Linked DNA regions of Homo sapiens: regions 1 and 3 are each linked to region 2. Evidence: promoter capture Hi-C in 16 types of primary human blood cells and fetal thymus (Javierre and others, 2016). All regions are on one chromosome and are shown on one strand. Each heading gives the region's core, a stretch centred on a gene start or on the middle of the fragment in contact. The rest is flanking DNA. Distances are from core to core; before and after follow the strand shown. Region 1 overlaps PRRC1 (proline rich coiled-coil 1). Region 2 holds the start of SLC12A2 (solute carrier family 12 member 2). Region 3 holds the start of LOC124901058 (a long non-coding RNA gene).

Region 1 (3,863 bases), core at 219-2,718, 550 kb before region 2:
ACTGCAACCTCTGCCTCCTGAGTTCAAGCGATTCTCCTACCTCAGCCTCCTGAGTAGCTGGACCTACAGGTGCACGCCACCATGCCCAGCTAATTTTTGTATTTTTAGTAGAGATGGGGTTTCACCATGTTGGCCAGGATGATCTCGATCTCTTGACTTTTTGATCCTCCCGCCTAGGCCTCCCAAAGTGCTGGGATTACAGGCGTGAACCACCGCGCCCGGCCATCTTAAGGTATTTTTACACAAATATTCTAGAAATCATTTGATGTAACAATTTCGTATGTGTCAAGAAACTCAAAAAGTATTAGAAATGGCAGGACTACTCATCACAAGCTGAAAAGCCATTTTGAGCTGAAGCTTAATGGAGCAGTACTTAGCTAAGGTCGAGAGATGTGTCCCATGTGGAGGAAAAAAGTGAAAAAAAAAGTATATTCTTCTTCTCTTTTATGTCCTAGTAACTTCTGAAGTATCCAGTACAGATGTGATCTGTGAGACATTATGTCAGTCAGGAAAAAGGGATCCATTATTTTTAAAACCCAAATATTTGAAAATATCTTTCCCTGTTCCACATGATATTTATTAGGGAAAAACAACCTTGTTTCTAGGGCAAAATGTTTTACATTATAAACAATTTTCATGAAAAATCTCTTTTGCCGGTGATAACTATTAATGCCAAATATCAAAATGTGCTGTGTTTAGAACAAGGGCTTTGAATTCATTATATCACAGAAATGTTTGGTTAAGATTTTTAAAAATAATGAAACATTTGGTCAAATTGATCTGTCTAGAAATAGTAGTACTTAGGTTGTTTAAGTAATTGAAAAATTAAAAATATTTGAAAATATTTTTATTTCGTATTACTCTTAATATTTTAAATTTTAAGTTTTATGTGTTATTTCAATTTCATATATGCTTGCATATTTATATTAGGGCAGTAGTACATGTATAATTGATAAATATCTATTTGTGGTGTATGCTCAGAACATTGTGGGGATATTTAATAAAAAGCTTGATGACCCCATATTTAAACTATTTTCTAGGTTAAAAAGTATATTTCATGGTAGTGCTTGTTTAGTACATAACTTCTCTGCAACTCATTGACAAATCACTTACTATCAGTAAGTCTTTATTTTAATTTTCCGTGGAGTATACTAAATATGTAACTTACACTTCACAAGCCAGATATGTGATTTCTGGCTTGTGATATGTAATGTCAGTTTTGAGTCCTGACATTAGTGCTAAGTAGATACGTTACCTTGGGCAAAACTTTGTTGGCCTCAGTTTTCTCAAGCATATAAAAAAGATAATGATCTATATCTTGCATGGTTTTATGAAACTGGTAATAATTATGTATATTAGATGTTAGCACCTGGTATGGTAGTAATTATGAGAATTTCATTATTTTAATTTGAAAGTTAAATTTTCCTCTGGTCTTTTTAGAATCTGGAGGTGAACTGGATATTGTAGTGACCTCAAATAAAGAAGTAAAAGTTGCTGCTGTCCGAGATGCCTTCCAGGAGGTCTTTGGCTTAGCTGTGGTTGTAGGGGAAGCTGGACAGTCCAATATTGCCCCACAACCAGTGGGCTATGCAGCTGGATTAAAAGTGAGTAACAGAACACCATTTTCAGGACATGGAAACTGGCATTTAATTTTTTCACAATTCTGATAATCTGTTGTCTCTATGGAGCTAATAGACTTTTACATACTGAAATAACAATGAACTTTGCTTTTAGTAGACAGCCCTATCGTATTATGAAGATATAGTGGAGTTTTAATTTAAAGAAATTTAAGATAGGTTTTGATTATTGTGGGAGGGAAAGAAACATTGAGAGAGCACAAAAGGAATAGTTAGTCCTAAAAGAGATCTTCTTAATCCAGCATTAACATTCAAATCAATTACTGAGATGATAATATCCCTTGAATCCCATAAGCTTTTATTATCCCTATTGATAATGCTTAAAAATATGTAAGTTCCAGGAATTCCGTCCTCTCTTTCATACTTTATTTTCCTCTCTTTGTGTTATTACCAGCATACAGTCATGCAAGAACAAATTAACAGTTCATTGGCATACAAACATCTTTCTCACCTTGAAAAAAAAAGAAAAAACCAAAGGAAACCCCAACAAATTCTTTGACCTCCCTTCCTCTATAACTTAATGACCTATTTTGCTTCCTTTTGCAGCTAAACTCCAAGGAGTTGGCAGCACTTTTCTCATATCCTTTTCACATTCAGTTAAGTCTACCTCAGTTAGGCTTTGATGTCCAGCACTCTACTGATAGTGCTTTCAGGCTCGTGCTAATGTTCTCCATCTTATTGGACTTACCAGAGGCTTTTGAGACAGTTGATCATGCACTTCTCTTTAATGCTTTTTTCACTTGATTTCTAGGATTCCACACTTTAGTTTTTCCCTCCTTCATGTATTGCTCACTCCTTCTGTACTTCCTTTGCTGATTCCTCCTCTTCTCTCCAGTCTTCTGACGGTCACCTTCTCATCAATTCACTCTCAGACTATCCCATGGCTTTAAATACTGTCTCTGTGCTAACAGTTCCAAATTTATATCTCCACCTGAGACCTTCCTGTAGACTCTTGATTTATATATAAGTTGCCTTTTTGACAAGTTTACTTGAATATCTCAAACTTAATATGTCTAGAACTAAACTTCTTTCCTCCACACTTGCTCCCTCTAGCCTTCTTCACCTTAATTGATGGCAGTTCTAGCCTTCCGTTTTCTCAGGCAAGAAACCTTGGAGTCAGCCCTGACTTCTCTCATTACCCACTTCTAATCCATCAAGAAATCTTATTTGTAAGACAGACAGTTCTTGTTTTTCAACATAATTGTGTTCCATAAAGTTGCTACAGACTGAATTTGTGAATACTGAGCCATTGCTCCCAGGGGAGATACGATGGTTAGGATACTGTGGGCCTCTGGTCACATTTTGCCAACCTGTCAATACATAACTTTGTTTTATGCCTCTTTCTGTTTAAATACATTTTTATACACATACATGCACATATTTTTGATTCATTAATATTGAACTCTCACAGTCAACAGTACTGTAACTCATGCTTGAATGCAGCTTATTTAACACACTCGTTTTCTCATTAAGGCACATCATTGTCTTCTTGTGCTTAGGAACACTACAGCACTCCAGCACTACACTTGGGGGCCATTTGAAAACAGCAGTTAACATCAACAAACACAAAGATGCAAAAAAGAGGTGCTAAATAGATCCCAAAAAGGATACCTGTTTACATTGTGTCAGCTGAAAGAAGAAGTCAGGGCACTGCCTTGTTCAGCCTCAGCTAGGAGTGTATGCATCAGGCAACTCAAATTTCTCATAGCTCTGTGCATGTCCGATTTTGAGATTATAAATAAATTTCATGTGTAGTCAATGGAATCCACAAAACTAATAGGATCGATCAACTGTATTTATGTTTAAGGAGAAACACATTTTCATATATGACATTCTGTTGTTTTATTTGAAGGAGCTTATAATAGCCTGCATTTTTTGAGAACATCCCCTGAGCCAGGCACATAGACCCTTTACCTGCATTCATTTGATGTGTGTAAAGCATTAGAATGAGGTAATTGACATAGCATATTTCATTGGGGAAAAAGTCTGTTGCATTAATTATAATTAGTCACTAAACACAAACCCACACTGACACTAGATTATTTTTAATTCTACTAGGTAGTGCTACATAAGTTTGAGGTGTTCTTTGAGTTGTATTTAGTACTTTATTTAAATAGAATATGAAGCCCTTTTCTTTTACACATATGCATACTCACATACCACAAAACCACTTTTCTATATTAGGGGCTATTAGGCAGTAGTTATACCCTATCTAAATGTAATGCA
Region 2 (3,750 bases), core at 800-3,299:
GCACGGATCAACTACTAATGCAGCAATTCCCTAGTAGAAAACTGCACTGCTTAAAGGACCACCTCATTTTTCTGGCCTCCTCTGGTTATTACTAAAGCTCAAAAGGAGCTTTAAAAATCCTGATGCAACAGCTGTTTTCCCCTCTCACCGTCTTTAAAAATAGAGATAATAAAATAGCCTGAAAAGTTGTCAAGTTCAAGTAAGATCATGTTTATGACAATTTTTTGAAAATTGCCTGGTTGCAGCTTTTACTTACAGCATTTTCAAACAGTTCTGCCAACTCTGTGGCTCTTTCATCATGTTTCAAGTGTTCAGCAAACGATGGTGTTCGTCTCCATAAAGTCAAAGTTTAAAAATACAAGGGCCGGGCGCGGTGGCTCATGCCTGTAATCCCAGCACTTGGAGAGGCGGAGGTGGGCGGATCACGAGGTCAGGAGATCGAGACCATCCTGGCTAACACGGTGAAACCCCGACTCTACTAAAAATACAAAAAATTAGCAGGGCGTGATGGCGGGCGCCTGTAGTCCCAACTACTCAGGAGGCTGAGGCAGGAGGAGAATGGCGTGAACCCAGGAGGCGGAGTTTGCAGTGAGCCAAGATCGCACCCCTGCACTACAGCTTGGGCGACAGAGCGAGACTCCGTCTCAAAAAAAAAAAAAAAAAGTACATAAATAAAAACCAAGTAATTGGAGGACGCCATTCATTGATTTTACTTAGGACTTTGGGCATAATCTATAGGTTTAAAAATTTCTGCTGCTAAGAAAGTGGGAACACAGTTATATTCCCTTACATTTTACCGAAGAGAAACTAGACCTGCAGAGGAGTACCTTTCTGTTTCTATATAAGCAGAGGAATTCTGCACAACCCAAATCACGCAGAAACCTCCTGGTAAGGACTCCACGGGTAGTTATTGCCGGCATTGTATTCTGAGAGATGAGCTGCATATCACTTTTGGAAATGCCTTAAATTAAAACTCGTCTTGAAACAACATGACGTCTCAAAGAAGCTCCCTTCTCACCTTGGAACATCAGCTTTTAAAATAAAGGTGTCATCAGAAGTGTGTAGACACCCACTGCATCACAACTGGAACTGATCTCTGGTTATGCCAATCTAGGTCTGCCTGGCAGGGTGAGTCTACCGCTCGAAAGCTGCACAGAGGAAATCCTCCCTCCTCCAGGTTCAGGCCCGGAGTTACGAGCGGAGATTCGCGGCGGCGGGTCAGAGCCCAGAGCAAACCAGGCTGGGGAACGCACCTCGCCCGCGGCTCCGGAAGCGGCTGCGGCCCCGACCGGAAAGCCCCCAGCATCGCCCGAAGGAATCGCGGCTGGCCTGCGGCTCCGGCCCGGCCTCGGGTACCACGCGCCTAGTGGGAAGCCGCACTGACGCCTGCAGCATCTCGCGAGATTTCGGGCTCAGCCCAAGTACTGCGAGTTCACCAAAGCGGGGGGAAAAAAAAAAAGCCAGCGTGCGAGAGCCTCTGAAGCCGTGGCTGGGGCGCTGGGGTGGCAGCTGCCGCGGGAGCATCAGCTACCGGCGTGAGGCGAGGCAGGGCACGCGCGCCGTCCGCAGCCCCGTTGCCTGGGCTGCAGGTCCACTGACGCGCGGCCCCTGGGTGGAGAGAGGGGAGGTGGCCTGGGAGCCCGCTCCTTTTCGCCGCAGAGCGCGGCGGGGGAGGGAGGTGAAGGCGTGGGAGGAAGGCGGCGGAAGAGGAGGTAGCCGCGCGGAGATCCTCCCGGCGACATCACTGAGGCGGAGCGTAGCCGCGCCTGCTCCCCGATCGCGCCGTTCGTGCTGCCCGCACTGCCCGAGGCCCTTTGCGGACTGGCTGGCCGCGCTCTTCGCACGGGGCGCTTTTGCGTGGGGTCGCGCAGGAGCCGCGGAGGGCCGGATCGCTGAGGGAGCGTCAGCCGCGCGCCGCTGCGGGACCGCGGGTGGGCGGGCTGAGGGGCGGAGGAGCCTCCGGCCCCGCCTCCCGCGTGCTGCTGCCGGAGCCGCCGCCGCCGCAGCCCCGCCGAGGCTTTAAACAGCGGGGCCCGCCCCGCGCCCGCCACACTCGCGCGCTCGCTCGGCTGCCGGTGGCCTCTGTGGCCGTCCAGGCTAGCGGCGGCCCGCAGGCGGCGGGGAGAAAGACTCTCTCACCTGGTCTTGCGGCTGTGGCCACCGCCGGCCAGGGGTGTGGAGGGCGTGCTGCCGGAGACGTCCGCCGGGCTCTGCAGTTCCGCCGGGGGTCGGGCAGCTATGGAGCCGCGGCCCACGGCGCCCTCCTCCGGCGCCCCGGGACTGGCCGGGGTCGGGGAGACGCCGTCAGCCGCTGCGCTGGCCGCAGCCAGGGTGGAACTGCCCGGCACGGCTGTGCCCTCGGTGCCGGAGGATGCTGCGCCCGCGAGCCGGGACGGCGGCGGGGTCCGCGATGAGGGCCCCGCGGCGGCCGGGGACGGGCTGGGCAGACCCTTGGGGCCCACCCCGAGCCAGAGCCGTTTCCAGGTGGACCTGGTTTCCGAGAACGCCGGGCGGGCCGCTGCTGCGGCGGCGGCGGCGGCGGCGGCAGCGGCGGCGGCTGGTGCTGGGGCGGGGGCCAAGCAGACCCCCGCGGACGGGGAAGCCAGCGGCGAGAGCGAGCCGGCTAAAGGCAGCGAGGAAGCCAAGGGCCGCTTCCGCGTGAACTTCGTGGACCCAGCTGCCTCCTCGTCGGCTGAAGACAGCCTGTCAGATGCTGCCGGGGTCGGAGTCGACGGGCCCAACGTGAGCTTCCAGAACGGCGGGGACACGGTGCTGAGCGAGGGCAGCAGCCTGCACTCCGGCGGCGGCGGCGGCAGTGGGCACCACCAGCACTACTATTATGATACCCACACCAACACCTACTACCTGCGCACCTTCGGCCACAACACCATGGACGCTGTGCCCAGGATCGATCACTACCGGCACACAGCCGCGCAGCTGGGCGAGAAGCTGCTCCGGCCTAGCCTGGCGGAGCTCCACGACGAGCTGGAAAAGGTGAGCTCGCCCAGCCCTCCCTTCTTCCCCAGCCCCTGGTGCATGCCGACCGCGGGATGTGGCTGCAGACTCTTCCCGAGTTGAGGTGGCGGGAGTAGTAGACGTGCACGACTTGCTGGCATCTCTGGATTCAGCTGTCAAGGGTGGAATTGCCGAGGAATGTTAACTTAATCTCTCAAAAGTTTGTAGCGGGTTTGGCTAGTTACGTGATACCGGAGGGCTGCCTCTAACAACCTTCCCCATCCAGTTAGGTATCTCGTGTGCACTTTCTTTCCCACCCACGCTCAACAGTCACCATCCCTCTGAATGACAGTAGTGTTTGTGGGCCCTTTAGAGGAGAATGTGCAGTGAGGATCTCTCGAGAGAGGTTGGAGAGCACCTACCATCTGTGTCGTTTTGAAAGATTGTGTTGTGTGGCTTATGTACGCCTATTAGGGATCGCAAGAGTGGGAATGTTGCTGTTTGAAGGAAAACCTTAACAGGGTGTGTTTATGGTCTATGAGTTATTAAAGCTCAATTCTTGCAATCTTGAATATACAAAGGATCATAGAGATCTTGTCTTGGGACACGCTGTTCCTAATAATGGCATAACTCTTTTTTTTTGCGATGAAAACGTTTTGGGAGAGGTGTATATTTAAAAAAAAAGGGACAGAGGCGAGTCTTTAAAGAAAAAAGGGAAACAGGAGAATTGGTTTTTCTGTAGAGGATGACCAGAAAGACCTGTGGGGTCTTTGCCATAAGCAGTTACACTTTGTA
Region 3 (3,694 bases), core at 144-2,643, 520 kb before region 2:
CACACCTGTTTCTCTTATCCTCTCTTTTCCCAAGCACCAGAAGGGACTCTGTCCCAAATTTCCTTATCTGGCTAAGGAAGCTTTTTTTTTCCAAAATAAATGCAATTGTCTTAAGACTCTGTTCTTAGGAATCTCATCAAATAACTAGGAAAGATTAACCACAGGAGAAGAGACTGGGAGTTGTCACCACACCCAGACAGACAAACTTTTCATCTATTCTTCTGAAGGCAGCTACTAAGATTACCAGGGAGGCTCTATCTGTATAAGACAAGCTTTGTTGATAATGAAGGTCCACCTTCCTGCCACCTCCCCCAGAGCCCAGAGCCCAGAGCCCAGAGGAACATGGTCTCAGACCATTTTTCTTTGGGCTCATTCATTTCCATGGAAAATCGGTTACTCCTTCATCACCATCTTCCCTTCCCCTATGAAGAAGGGTATGAAAGCCTCTGGGCCTCATTGGGTTATTGGGTAATCACTCTACTGTGATTTCCCCTGGACACTTCAAATACATTTTGTATGCCTTTTTCTTGTACTAATCTGCCTTTCATCCATTCATTTTCAGTAATCCCTCAGTGGGCAAAGAGGAAGATTTCTCTCTACCCTCACAGCATGAAACACCTGTGTTGTAGGTATTTGACTTTGAGCCCCATTTTCATCTGTAAAATTAGTTTATATATGTAAAAGCACTTAGAATAGTGTATGACAGTTAAATTCAGCATAAGCAGTAACCGTGGGACCCTAGTAAATCAATAAGTTAAAAGGAACCGGAAGGAGCCAGGCTGGTAGAACAGGGACTGGACCTAACCCAGGGATCTAACCCCATTTGCAACCCTTTTGTGTGAAAAACCACAACCAATATCTTGCAACTCCAGAAACAGAAGGCATATGGGTTGCAAAATGGCTAACAACAGCAAAGCATTTCCCTTGGGCACCTGGAGAGGAAAGGGCTGACAGTTAAAAATTACCCCAACATAGTCTTAGCATATAGCATAGCACAAGCTTACTTGCACACAGCCCTCTCCAGCACGACCTTACAAAACTTCCCTCCAGCCCCTGCATCTTTGCAGACAGCCCCTTCTCTGCTGTGCTGCTTGTTGCATCCTTGCAACATTATCTTCATGCTTCCTCTAATAAGTCTACCTTTCTTTACCTATGACTGTCTTGGTAAAGGAGCCCAAAGAAAAATGGCCTGAGACTGTGATAACCATGATCTTCTTGGCTCTAGGGGAGGTGGCGGGAAGGTGAACTTTCATTATGAACACCACCAGCCAGCTGTCACGTCCCCGACAGCAACTATTATTATTACTATCATCACCACCTGTAAACAAGGCACCACAGAGCCCTTGTGGGGCTGAATTCAAGGATGTGGGGTACGTGTGTGCAGATATTTATTGACAGAGCAACATTTCAGAGTCCCCTTGGCACATGTGAAAAGTGTGGCTTAGGGGAAAGATATGGATTTTTGATCAGATAGATATGGGCCATGCTCTAGCTCCACTGTTTACCATCAGTGCAACCTTAAAGAGTTATATAACCTCTCTATGCTTCCTTATCATAAAATGAGGATAAATAGTACCTTCCTTTTATTTTTTGTGAAGATTAAGGGGCAAATAACTCCACAGTTGTGGATTGTTATTACCATTAAAAAGCCAGTGGAGAACACCTGTTGAGCATGAGGGTGTAAAGCCTCCCAACCGAATGTTAATTTCCCCAACTGCATCTTAGAAGCTATTTTGGCAAAGAGTAAAACTCTTCACTTTAAAGTTTATTGGGCCAAAAGCATATTTGAAGCTTAATCTTCTCAATATGATTTAAAAAAGTGGAAGAAACTATGATAAAGCAACAGAGAAAGGGATTGACAGGTATGAAAAAACATATGGAGAAGAGTGAGTAAAATCTCTGGAAGAGAATGCAGACCTCTCCCTCCGTTTTGGATCAGTAAGTCTGTGTAGCCACATCAGATCTCATCCGTTGGAAGACCATAAGCTGCCCTTGGGCATGAGGCAATGAAGGGCAGGGGTGTCATCGTGGATGGGTATGACATAAGAGAAAGAGAAAGTGGAAGAAGAGGGGAAGGAGGAGGAGGAGGAGGAGAGAGAGACACAGGACAACCAATAAAACCTTGCATACACATCACAGAACCAAAAGAAAGAGTAGATATTTTGTGTGTGCATATTTGTGTGTTTTTATCTTAAAGACAAATTGTATGCTGTCTAGATCACACAGGTAGGGCAGCTGTCTAGATATTGAGTATGTTAAGGACTTGGACATCTTAAAACAATACACTTAATCAACTGCCTTTGCTACTTAAAAAAAAACAAATCTCAATTGAAAATGGATTGATTGGAAGCATGACAGAATATTTCAGATTAAGCCAATGGAAGGAATCCTATCGTTGCTGCACTGATAATAAAATAATACTTGGAAACCACTTACCACCAAAGTGGGTGCTCAATAGATGTTAGTTTCTCTTTGTTTCCCCTTGTTTCATAAAAAAAAGGAAAGAAAAAAAAAACCAAAGCTATACAGGAGGGAGAAAAAAATGAGGGAAAGGAAGAAAGTCAAAAGGAAAGAAGTTAAAAAAAAGAACGAAGAAAATTTCCCCCAAAAGACTTCAAGCCAACTAAGACACGAGAGAAGTTTGTCAATTTAAACATTGATGATATTTGTGGACATTGCAAGTTCTCCATACAACATCTTATGAGTGAGAAAAATCCCATAGTATAAGAGGCTTTTTTTGATTAGATGTAACAGCCAATTCACTACATAATACAAATTAGATATCTTAAAGAGATACTACCACCAATCAGATTTGACATTTTCTCTTATGCTTTTTTTGTATCTCTAAGGGTTGATTTTAAAGGAGAGAATAACACTTTTGACAATAGTTATGCAATGTACTTTTAAAAACTAACCTGTGAAATCGGGCTGCAATCAACTAGTTGACCTTGGTTGGACCATATTGAGAGGTGACAGCGTGCTAGCAGTCCTCACAGCCCTCGCTCGCTCTTGGCGCCTCCTTTGCCTGGGCTCCCACTTTGGCGGCACTTCAGGAGCCCTTCAGCCCGCCACTGCACTGTGGTAGCCCCTTTCTGGGCTGGCCAAGGCCGGAGCCGGCTCCCTCAGCTTGCGGGGAGGTGTGGAGGGAGAGGCGCGGGCGGGAACCGGGGCTGCGCGCGGTGCTTGCGGGCCAGCGCGAGTTCCGGGTGGGCGTGGGCTCGGCGGGCCCTGCACTCGGAGCTGCCGGCAGGCCCCGCCGGCCCCGGGCGGTGAGGGGCTTAGCACCTGGGCCAGCAGCTGCTGTGCTCAATTTCTCGCCGAGCCTTAGCTGCCTTCCCGCGGGGCAGGGCTCGGGACCTGCAGCCCACCATGCCTGCGCCTCCCCTCCGCCTCCGTGGGCTCCTGTGCGGCCGAGCCTCCCCGACGAGCGGCGTCCCCTGCTCGACAGCGCCCAGTCCCATCGACCACCCAAGGGCTGAGGAGTGCGGGCTCACGGCGCGGGACTGGCAGGCAGCTCCACCTGCGGCCAGGTGCCGGATCCACTGAGTGAAGCCAGCTGGGCTCCTGACTCTGGTGGGGACTTGGAGAACCTTTAGGTCTAGCTAAGGGATTGTAAATACACCAATCGGCAGACACTCTGTATCTAGCTCAAGGTTTATAAACACACCAATCAGCACCCTGTGTCTAGCTCAGG

What was found. Contacts are between HindIII fragments. The CHiCAGO score rates a contact against its expected background, and 5 or more counts as called.
Region 1: a fragment that was not itself captured here is called in contact with the fragment with the promoter of SLC12A2 in region 2 in 2 of 17 cell types (non-activated CD4 T cells and total CD4 T cells); the score reaches 7.0 in non-activated CD4 T cells.
Region 3: a fragment that was not itself captured here is called in contact with the fragment with the promoter of SLC12A2 in region 2 in 6 of 17 cell types (naive CD8 T cells, total CD8 T cells, megakaryocytes and 3 more); the score reaches 8.1 in naive CD8 T cells.

Annotation. Positions count from the first base shown.
Region 1 is chr5:127,532,183-127,536,045 of GRCh38, forward strand. It overlaps PRRC1 (proline rich coiled-coil 1), which reads left to right. Exons shown (of 9, transcript NM_130809.5): 6 at 1,441-1,604. Among named protein-coding and RNA genes, the nearest start is that of PRRC1, 16 kb to the left of the region's middle. The HindIII fragment of the contact is 924 bases long and covers 1,007-1,930 here.
Region 2 is chr5:128,081,717-128,085,466 of GRCh38, forward strand. It overlaps SLC12A2 (solute carrier family 12 member 2), which reads left to right and starts at 2,050. Exons shown (of 27, transcript NM_001046.3): 1 at 2,050-2,994. The coding sequence starts at 2,239. SLC12A2-DT (SLC12A2 divergent transcript) reads right to left here and starts at 1,459. Exons shown (of 4, transcript NR_152813.1): 1 at 1,254-1,459. RefSeq lists a silencer at 1,714-2,543 and an enhancer at 3,034-3,203. The HindIII fragment of the contact is 20,683 bases long and covers 1-3,750 here.
Region 3 is chr5:127,566,311-127,570,004 of GRCh38, forward strand. LOC124901058 (a long non-coding RNA gene) reads right to left here and starts at 3,155. Exons shown (of 2, transcript XR_007058924.1): 1 at 2,916-3,155. RefSeq lists a silencer at 1,010-1,069. The HindIII fragment of the contact is 792 bases long and covers 998-1,789 here.